Regions from separate parts of the Homo sapiens genome. Here region 2 is linked to region 1. Evidence: promoter capture Hi-C in 16 types of primary human blood cells and fetal thymus (Javierre and others, 2016). All regions are on one chromosome and are shown on one strand. The core of a region is centred on a gene start or on the middle of the fragment in contact, and the rest is flanking DNA. Distances in the headings are between cores, read along the strand shown.

The links. Contacts are between HindIII fragments. The CHiCAGO score rates a contact against its expected background, and 5 or more counts as called.
Region 2: a fragment that was not itself captured here is called in contact with the fragment with the promoter of B3GNT7 in region 1 in 2 of 17 cell types (erythroblasts and M2 macrophages); the score reaches 5.9 in erythroblasts.

The regions. Positions count from the first base shown.
Region 1 is chr2:231,393,367-231,397,993 of GRCh38, forward strand. It overlaps B3GNT7 (UDP-GlcNAc:betaGal beta-1,3-N-acetylglucosaminyltransferase 7), which reads left to right and starts at 2,344. Exons shown (of 2, transcript NM_145236.3): 1 at 2,344-2,448; 2 at 4,365-4,627. The coding sequence starts at 2,438. RefSeq lists enhancers at 1-548, 549-1,130, 1,426-1,475, 3,744-4,627, 3,886-3,955 and a silencer at 2,026-2,495. The HindIII fragment of the contact is 8,411 bases long and covers 1,759-4,627 here.
Region 2 is chr2:231,222,184-231,226,810 of GRCh38, forward strand. ARMC9 (armadillo repeat containing 9) reads left to right here. Exons shown (of 25, transcript NM_001352754.2): 6 at 545-637; 7 at 4,591-4,615. Among named protein-coding and RNA genes, the nearest start is that of ARMC9, 26 kb to the left of the region's middle. RefSeq lists an enhancer at 257-556. The HindIII fragment of the contact is 1,670 bases long and covers 2,543-4,212 here.

The DNA of each region.
Region 1 (4,627 bases), core at 1,094-3,593:
GTAACAGGGGAGGCTGACCCGAGCCTGGCCCGGCTCCACACTCCCCACCCCCACCCCACCATCAGGGACTCGCATTTAATTGTCATTCATTTCCCCTCTCTGAATTCAAACTAGGCACAGATCAAATGATTCCATGATGACAAACTGCCTGTCTCAACTGACCAGATTCCACTGGCAAACACTCCGCTGACCTTGGGCAGCTCCCTCTGCTCCCACCTCCTCTGGCCCTTGTGCTTCTGGGGCTTTGTGGAGTAGCTGGACATCAATGATAACACTAACAGTAGCCGGCCTGCCACCAAGTTCTTTACATAGGGGATGCCTATGTCTGTGCTTCATTGGCGTCATCTCACAAGGCCCTGAGCTGGCAGGAAATTGAGGTCTCAAGGGGAAAAGCCACCTGCCCCCAGTGACAACCAGGAAGTGCAAGACTCTGACCCAACGCCCATGCCTGCCATCCCCAAACATGGGCTCAAAACCCCCTTCCCAGGGACGGCTGTGTCCACCCCTCAGCAGGAGGAGGAGACCCCACAGCACCGGGTGAGAGGTCAGTGCTGAAGCCAGGGAGGCAGCTCTCAGCAGGGCACCTGTGTGGAGCCAGGGAAGCCAGGGCCACACTTGCAGGGTGAAGTGGGGAACTCGGAAGGCTGGGCAGTGGAGCAAAATGCTTGGTGCCCTGCGGGAACCGGTGGCCAAGGCTACACTGGGATGAAGGGAGCCGTGGAGCTGCAGAATCTGCGGGTGGCCCTCAGTGGCAGGCAGCCAGGCCAACAGGGGCTTTGGGCTGCAGGTCAGCCCCTCCCCTGCTCTGGAACTTTTGGAGGGCCATTACAAAGGACATCAGCCCCAAGATACTCCTCTGAAATTCTGCCTGAAAGGCCCTTCACATTCCCTAATTGGCACTTACAACATTCCAGAACATTCTATGGTACCTTAAGTTTCTCCTCCCCCTCCAAAGGGCCCTTGAACCTTAAGGATAGGGCAGAAGGGGCTCCTCACCCTGGCCTCGAGGGCTTAAGATCCAGCTGAGGACTCCTAGCCTCCCTGTGTGCTGGGCAGGAAAGTAGCTCCATGTCACTGCTGTCCCTGGGAAAGGAAAAAAGGTTGAGGAAGGGCTCAGAGCCAGCCTTCAGACCAGGCAGGAAGGGTTCAGAGCCAGCCTTCAGGCCATGCAGGCCTCCTGGATGTGCTTACTAACTCTGGGCTCGCTGTTCTCTGAGCTGGCTGGGAGTTCCCCTCTGCACCCCCGTTTCCTCCCCTGTAAGGTGGGAATAATAGCGTATGTCTCTAGGATTAAGTGAGCCAGTCATGCATGGGCCGAGAACCAGGTTTGGCATATTGTAGCTGCTCAGTGGACGTTAGCTGTTATGATTGGACCACAACGTGCTTCCGTTTCAATTCTGTGGGCCTTTTGGAGGTCCTGCTGGATGCTAAGCACCGAAACCTCAACCCGGAACAAGACCAGAACAACCTGAGCAACAACAGGACCAGCGATGGCTCTCCCTGCTGGAGGATTCTGGAAGTCACCTGGCTGGACCAAGCCCTCTCCGTGTTCTCTGTCAGCCCACTCCCCAGAGCCGCTAGGCCTGATGTGCACAAGCAGACTAATAAAGGCTTGAGGACAAAAAGGGTTTTGAGTGATAAGTGAAAAAAGAAAGGAGATAGGGCTGGGCCAACAGGCCTTCCCTTGGTGGTGGGGAGCCCTCAGAGGTGGGAGGAACCCCAGAGGTGAAGAGAGGGACATGGTGGGGGCACAAAAAAAGCTTCCAGAGCCACAGGCCTGGGCGAGTCCTGACATGGAGCCCAGTCTCATACGGCCTCTTTCCCTAGTGGCTGGCTTTGCTCCTGGCCCTAGGTAGCCCAACAGCTGGGCAAGGGGTCCGTCTGGTCAGGGGAAAGGTGCAGGGGCAGAAGGTAGCAGAGGGAGAAAAGGACACCCTGTCTGCCTCTGGCCCCAAAGACAAGTCCGAATGGGGCCAGAGGGAAATGGCTGGGCCTTGGGGTGCCCCAGGGTCTTGGAGGGGACCGGGTGTTCAGGTTTCGCACAAGTACAGGAGGGACCGGCGACCGCCCTCCCCCCGCCCCGGGAGGCTCCGCCAGGGACAGGCGTCCCCGGGATTGGAGGTGACCCCCGTGGGTTCCGAAGCCCCGCCTCGGCCATGCACTGTCTACTAGGCGCGCTTGGGGAGCCTAGGGGCCGTCTCGGAGAAATGGGGTGGTCCCCGCCAGGCGGCGGCGGGGCGGGCCCTGGGCGCCGAAGGGGTTAAGGCACCTGGGCCACCGCCCCTGCCGGCCCCTCCTCCCGCGGCCGGGAAGAGGAAAGTCGCGGCGGGGGCGCGGCCCGGTCTCCGTCCCCACCCGCCCGCCGTCCCGCCGGCCCGAGCCGTGGCGCCCAGAGCTGCGAGCCGCTCGCCCCTCCGCCGCTCCGGCCCGGGCCGCCATGTCGCTGTGGTGAGTGGGGCTGGGGGCCGTCGGGGGCCTGGGCGGGGGCGTGGGCCCGGGGCTCCCCCTCCTCCGTGGCCACAGACGGGCGCCGGGACTCCCGGGATAGGAGATGCCCCCGCGCGCGCCGCGCCGGCCTCAGTTTCCCGGGGGCGGATGGGCGGGCGGGCGCGGCGGCGGCGGCGGGAGATGTTCGCGGTACGCGGCCCCGGACCCGTGGGGGACGTCGAGGGGTCTCGGGGCGCCGCGCTCAGCTCCCCGGCCCCGCGGCCCTGGACACCGCTCCAGGACCCTGGCGGCTGGGACCCCAGGTCTTGCCGGCAGCTGGGTCCCCTCTCCCTTCCAGACCCCTGAGGGCCCCCTGCGTCCGGGCCACTCTCCTCCTCTCGGGGCTTCCTTCCGCGGGACCTCGGACCGCCGCCCGCCCGGCCCCTCTCCGCCCCTCCCGGGCTTTCCCTACGAATGGAGCGGACCCGGCAGGTGGAGCGCCCGCAGCCCAGGGCCTCGCCGCCTTCCCGGTGCACCCCCCGACCTCCCCCGTCCCGGCCTCGGTGGGCGGCTTCCCTGGAACCCCTAGGGCTGGCAGGGCCGGATCCGGAGCCCTCCGTTTCCTCCCCGGAGAGCTGGACCTTGGGTCACACCCCCCAGCCTGCACCTAAGGTGCCCCTGTCTTCCTCCAACCACATGCCCCAGCAACCTGGGGACCCTATGGGGAAAATGTCGCTCTATGGGGCTCAGCCTGCATTCACCCTGGGGCCTGGACCTGCAACCGGACCAGCCCTCAGGGCAACCCAGGCGTCTCCACGGGCTGCCTGTCTCTCCTGGCACCCTGCTCCTCCCCCTTGGAGGTCAGCGCCATCTCTCTGCTAGGCTGGCCCTGGAAGGCCACTCTGCTGTCCCCAGAGCTCTCAGCCCCCAGGTCTCCACTGGGGAGGGTGGGGCAGGTGTCCTGGCAGCCCCCGGAGGGTGAGATGAAGAGAGGAGGTCCTTCAGGACAGGGGCTCAGGCCCCAGGGCTTGGGACGACCAGCACTCCTGGCAGAGAGCTCTAATTTCTGCTTCCGAAATGGGTGTGGACCGGGGTTGGGGTGGGGGGGTCTCTGGGCAAGAAGGGTCCCTCAAGGGCTGGAGCTGCAAATGTGCCCCCTCCCAGGGAGTAGAGCTGTAGCCTCATGTCTTCTAATGGGGTGTTATGAGCTGGGGATGTTAAGGTAGGGGTGAGGGGCAGTGCCATGCTAGAGGTGCTCACTGCATCCTTGGGCCTCCATCAACCATGAGGGCTGCTCTTTGTTGGGTGAGACAGACTGGAGAAGGGGGAGGAGGGCCAGTCTTCCTCAGGTCCCAAGCTCGAGCCACTCTCCAATGTGCCCCACATGTGATGGAGCTCCCGGGCGGCACAGAGGATCAGAGGGTGCCCTCTCAATGACTCTGGCTCTGAGTCACCTAATGATACCGATACCTACTGCTGTGGGTAGGTACACCGCAGGGAAATGAAAGGCATTGGGGTTCCAGGCGTGGGGAACAGGGCAGAGGTTTCCACCTGAGGCCCTCCTGTTAAGGTGACAGCATTCCCCTAACTGTGCACCCGCTGCCTGGTACTTTATATAGCACTCCAATCCTGTGTTTTAGCCCCATTTGGGGGAAGAAGAAATCGTGGCTCAGAGTGGTTGTAAACCACTCATTCAGCTTGTAAGCGTCAGGGCCTGATTCCACAGTGCTCCTTGAGGAGAGGGCAGGGTGGGAGAAAGAAAGGGCAGGGTGGGAGAGGAAGCGGGACCCTACCCTGACAGCTTAGGGACTCCGGGACTGAGCCTGTGCCCAGGTCCACTTGCCCGTCTGGGACCACCCAGCCTCCCAAGGGGGGCGCCAGGAGAGCCCTGGGCTCATCTTTTCTCTCTCCTCTGTACTGTCCGCTCTCCCCCACAGGAAGAAAACCGTCTACCGGAGTCTGTGCCTGGCCCTGGCCCTGCTCGTGGCCGTGACGGTGTTCCAACGCAGTCTCACCCCTGGTCAGTTTCTGCAGGAGCCTCCGCCACCCACCCTGGAGCCACAGAAGGCCCAGAAGCCAAATGGACAGCTGGTGAACCCCAACAACTTCTGGAAGAACCCGAAAGATGTGGCTGCGCCCACGCCCATGGCCTCTCAGGGGCCCCAGGCCTGGGACGTGACCACCACTAACTGCTCAGCCA
Region 2 (4,627 bases), core at 2,128-4,627, 170 kb before region 1:
TATTTGAGATAAATAATTTGTTTTTAAAGGACAAATCATGCTAAGACTATATCATAATTCTTGACATGGTGGGGTATTTGTGGCAGAAAATAGCTTCTGTCCTTTTTTCTTATCTAGACGAGGTTTGTGGAAATGAGTCCCTTTCTTGGGGAGACTCTCAGTAACTTAGTGATAATTGTTTATGTTACGCCTCCCAGTGCTGTGCGTGCCTAGACTGTACTGAACTATTTTTGGTATGCAGCCTAATAAGGTTCCTTGTCACGACTGTGTTTAAATCACATGAAATACTCAAATCATGTTCAGGGTTATTTTTTCCCTGTTTATGAAAGAACTCTATTTTTTCTTCCTACTGTGGGCACTTGAATCTTCTGTAAATGAGTTGGTCAGATGTCCTAAGACCTGTTTTTCACAGCCTCACGTCACTGGCATTTTGGTTTTGGTTTCAATCACTGTGCAGGGTTTTTTAGCCTAATGACCTCAACTTGATGATGCTATTGGTACTTAGTAATCTAATGTTTGTATTTTTGTTCCCTTTTTTCTTTAGGATTCCTGGACTCCAGAGTTAAAGTTGAAGTTGATAAAGTTTCTAGCTTTAATATCTAAAGCCAGCAACACGCCAAAGCTTTTAACAATATATGTATCCTTTTGAAGCAAATAGAGACCACCTATGGTTTTAGAGCAGATTTTATTTAGAGTTGCACGCTGGCTTAGGTTTATTGAGGTTGCCTCATTAAATCGGGATAATTAATAGTGTTGCTTTCATATTTACAAGGTCAATGAATCATTAATGGCAGGGCCTATAGAGATCAACTTCTATATCATTGGATCTCTGAGACTTTCTTTTTGGCAAGGTCTTATTTTGATGTCACGTGGCTAGAAGTTGTCTTGGTAGAAAAGAAAGTTTACCTTCTTGTAAAAGAATTCCTTGGGATAATTGTCCCTTTGCAGAATGTCACTTAACCACTTTTAAGCCCTTCAGGCCATGGCATATGGATCGGGTGACCATCTAACTTGTCATTCAAATTGGGACTTCTTTTTAAATAACTTTATTGAGGTGTAAATTTACATACCATAAAATCTACCCATGGTAAGTGTACAATTTAATGCTTTTTGGCAAACGTACAGAGCTGTGCAGTATCACCACAGTCCAGTTCAAACTGGGACACTTTTGAAAGTAAAAAGGGGCACTAACTGGACAAAGTACCAGGGTGACAGGTGTAAATAGAGCCTGTTTCAGAAAGAGCAGAACGTTAGGTCACCCAACCCATGGAAGACTAATTTCCCAAAGGTTATTAGTTTTTAAAGACAAGTATCTCCTTTTACTTGGAATAAAAATGTATCCAAAGTTATTTCATAACAAGAACATAATGTTTTGAATGGTAAAATTGGTCACTGTTTAGTTTAATTTCATGAAAAATTTAGGCTACTTTGCTGCGTAATACCTTCTGCTTCCTTTCTAACTCCAAAGCATTTGACTTTCTTGACCTAATTGAGGTTTTATTTGTCACTAGGACTCCATGCCACATTTCTACTTGAGCTTCCTAAGCCTTCCCTGTTGCCTGTATTCAAATTCCTTAGCCTGGCCTGAGCCGAACGGACTGATCTACAGCTCTCGTCTCTGCCTTTATATCCTTAAGGCTTTTGTTTAAATTCTTCTGTTTGCCTACATACCACGATGTTTGCATATCCAAACCTTTTCCTTCCTAGAGTTCCATATACAGTGATTTTCAGTGAAACTAGAACTTTTCCAACTTGACTTATAATTATTTGAATACGCTTTAAAAAAGCATTTCTCAGCTTAATTTTTTTTTTTCTTGATACTGCTCCTTGTGGAACAGGGCTACCCCATAGGCAGTGTGCCCAGAGTAGCTCAGCTTAATAATTATGGGTGCCAATATGTTAAGAATCTAATCAAAATGATTTACATGGTAAATTATATTAGTTATATTAAAAATATATTAGTATACTCAAAACAGTACCTGACTGGGCCCCGTGGCTCACGCCTGTAATCCCAGCACTTTGGGAGGCTAAGGCGGGAGGATCACTTGAGCCCAGGAGTTTGAGCCCAGAGTGGGCAACATGGCGAAACCCCATCTCTGCAAAAAGTACAAAAAGTTAGCTGAGCATGGTAGCATCCATATGACTATAGTCCCAGCTATCTGGGGGAGACAGGTGGGCGAATCACCTGAGCCCAGGAAGTTGAGGCTGCATTGAGCTGTGTATTCTGCCATTGAACTTCAGCCTGGGCAACATAGTGAGACCCTGTCTCAAAAAAATAAGAATAAAAAAAGATCATAGTACCTATTTTATAGGAAGAGTATGAAGATTGAGTTAATACATATAACTTGTATGAAACAGTCCAGTATATAGTAAGTGCTTGATAACTGTTAGCTGTTGGCATTAGAATTTTTAAGTACTTGTCACCTTTCATCCTGTTCCACATGCTTTGAAGCATATGCTGAAATATAGCAGGTAACTATAAATAACATTCTAATATTTTCCTTGTTACATGAAAATACTTGTAGTTCAGTTCAATACATTAAGCTTCTACTATGAGTCAAATATTGTTCTAGGATTTAGGGATATAAAGAAAAGGCCAAGATGTAATTCTCTTAGCCAAACTGGAGCTTTGAACAATAAAATAGGAGTCTGTGAGGCAAACAGAGGAGGGATGGGAATTACAGGTAGAGGGAACAGCCTGTGCAAAGGCACTGAGACAGTGCCTGGGAAACTGAAATAATTTAATATTACTGGAGCAGAGTATTGGCATAGACAAACTCAGAGACTAGGCAGGGCCTAGGTCATAAAGGTTTATGCCAAGTCCTATAAGGAATAAGGAGCCTTTGAAGCATTTTAAGTAAGAGAATAACAGTTGTATTTGCAAAAAATAACTTTTTACTTCCTGATTATAAAATCAACTATATTCCTTATAGAAAATTTGGAAAGTACAGAAAGGTTTTTAATACAGACATACACCCAAATTGTAATAAAGGTAGGTACATGTATGTGTGTGTATATTTCTATGCATTTTTATCAAAGGAAGAGAACATCTTCCCATATCATTAAATAGCCTTCAAAAGCAGGTTAAGTTCCCTCAGAGGTTTAAACGTAGAGTTACCACATGACCCAGGAATTGGTCCAGGCTGTACACCCAAGAGCTATATACCCTAGCTATATACCCAAGAGAAATGAAACATACATATGTCCACAAAACAACCTGTACACAAATGTTCATAGTAACATTATTCATAATAGCCAAAAAAATGCAAACAACTCAAATGTCTATCATCTTATGAATGGATAAACAAACTGTGGTGTTATCCAAATGATGGAATATCGTTTGATATCATCCAGCCATAAAAAGGAATGAAGCACTGATTCATGCTGTAACATGAATGATCCTTGAAAGCATTATGCTAACTGAAAGAAGCCAGTGGCAGGGACCAGGTATTATATGACTCTATTCATAAAATGTCCAAAAGAGGCAAATCTGGAGAGACAGAAAGTATATTAGTGGTTGCCAGGGGCTGGGGAGAGCAGGGAAAATGGGAGTAACTGCCAGTGAATACAGGGTTTCTTTTGGAGGATGATGAAAATGTTCTAAAATTGATTGTAGTGATGGTTGCATAACTCTGAAAATACTGAAAACCATTGAAATGTACACATTGATTGATGATTGATTGATTGATTGAGTCAGAATTTTGCTCTTGTCACCCATGCTGGAGTGAAATGGCGTGATCTTGGCTCACTGCAACCTCCGCCTCCCAGGTTCAAGCGATTCTCCTGCCTCAGCCTCCCAAGTAACTGGGATTACAGGCACCCACTACCAAACCTGGCTGATTTTTGCATTTTTAGCAGAGACAGGGTTTTGCCATGTTGGCCAGGCTGGTCTCAAACTCCTGATCTCAGGTAATCCACCCGCCTCAGCCTCCCAAATTGCTGGGATTACAGGCGTGAGCCACCACACTGGCCTGAAAGGTACACTTTAAATAGGTGAATTATACAGTACGTGAATAAAGCTATTACCAAAATACTAAGGAAAAGTTTAAGACAAATTAAGGGAAAAGAAACATGTTAAGTAACTGTCTTCAGTCATGCAGCCAGACGTGTGGGAACTGAGATTTGAACCCAGGCAGTCTGGCTCCAGAGTCTGTGGTCTTAGCAATACTGTGCTATGCTGTTTTCACCTCAATATCAATTTCCTTAGGATAAAGCTTTGAATTGAAGTTAGAGTTGAATTATGTATAAAATCAGATTTGCATTTTTAGTTGGCTTGGTAGCAGTGGGGAAGGCCTTTGGAAGGGGATAGGAAGGGGATAGGAGGCTGTTGAAATAGTGCAAGACTTGAATTCAGACAGTGATAATTGAAATGGGGAGAAGAGGACTTGCCTTCTTCTGAAATGGGAGTGGGTCAGGCCAGTATGGAGAAGTTGCTTAGCTATTTACAGCAACAGTTGGAGCTGGCCCTCCCGGCTCCGAGAATTCTGTTTCATCATGCTGAGGTGCTTTCTCACATTGGCCACAGGATGTCCGATACCCCAAGTACCGTTCCCTGAATGCCTGTTTTCCTGAACTTCTTTTTCATCCCAGAAGGAGAATGGACAAAGTAACAAAGGTAAATCATCTA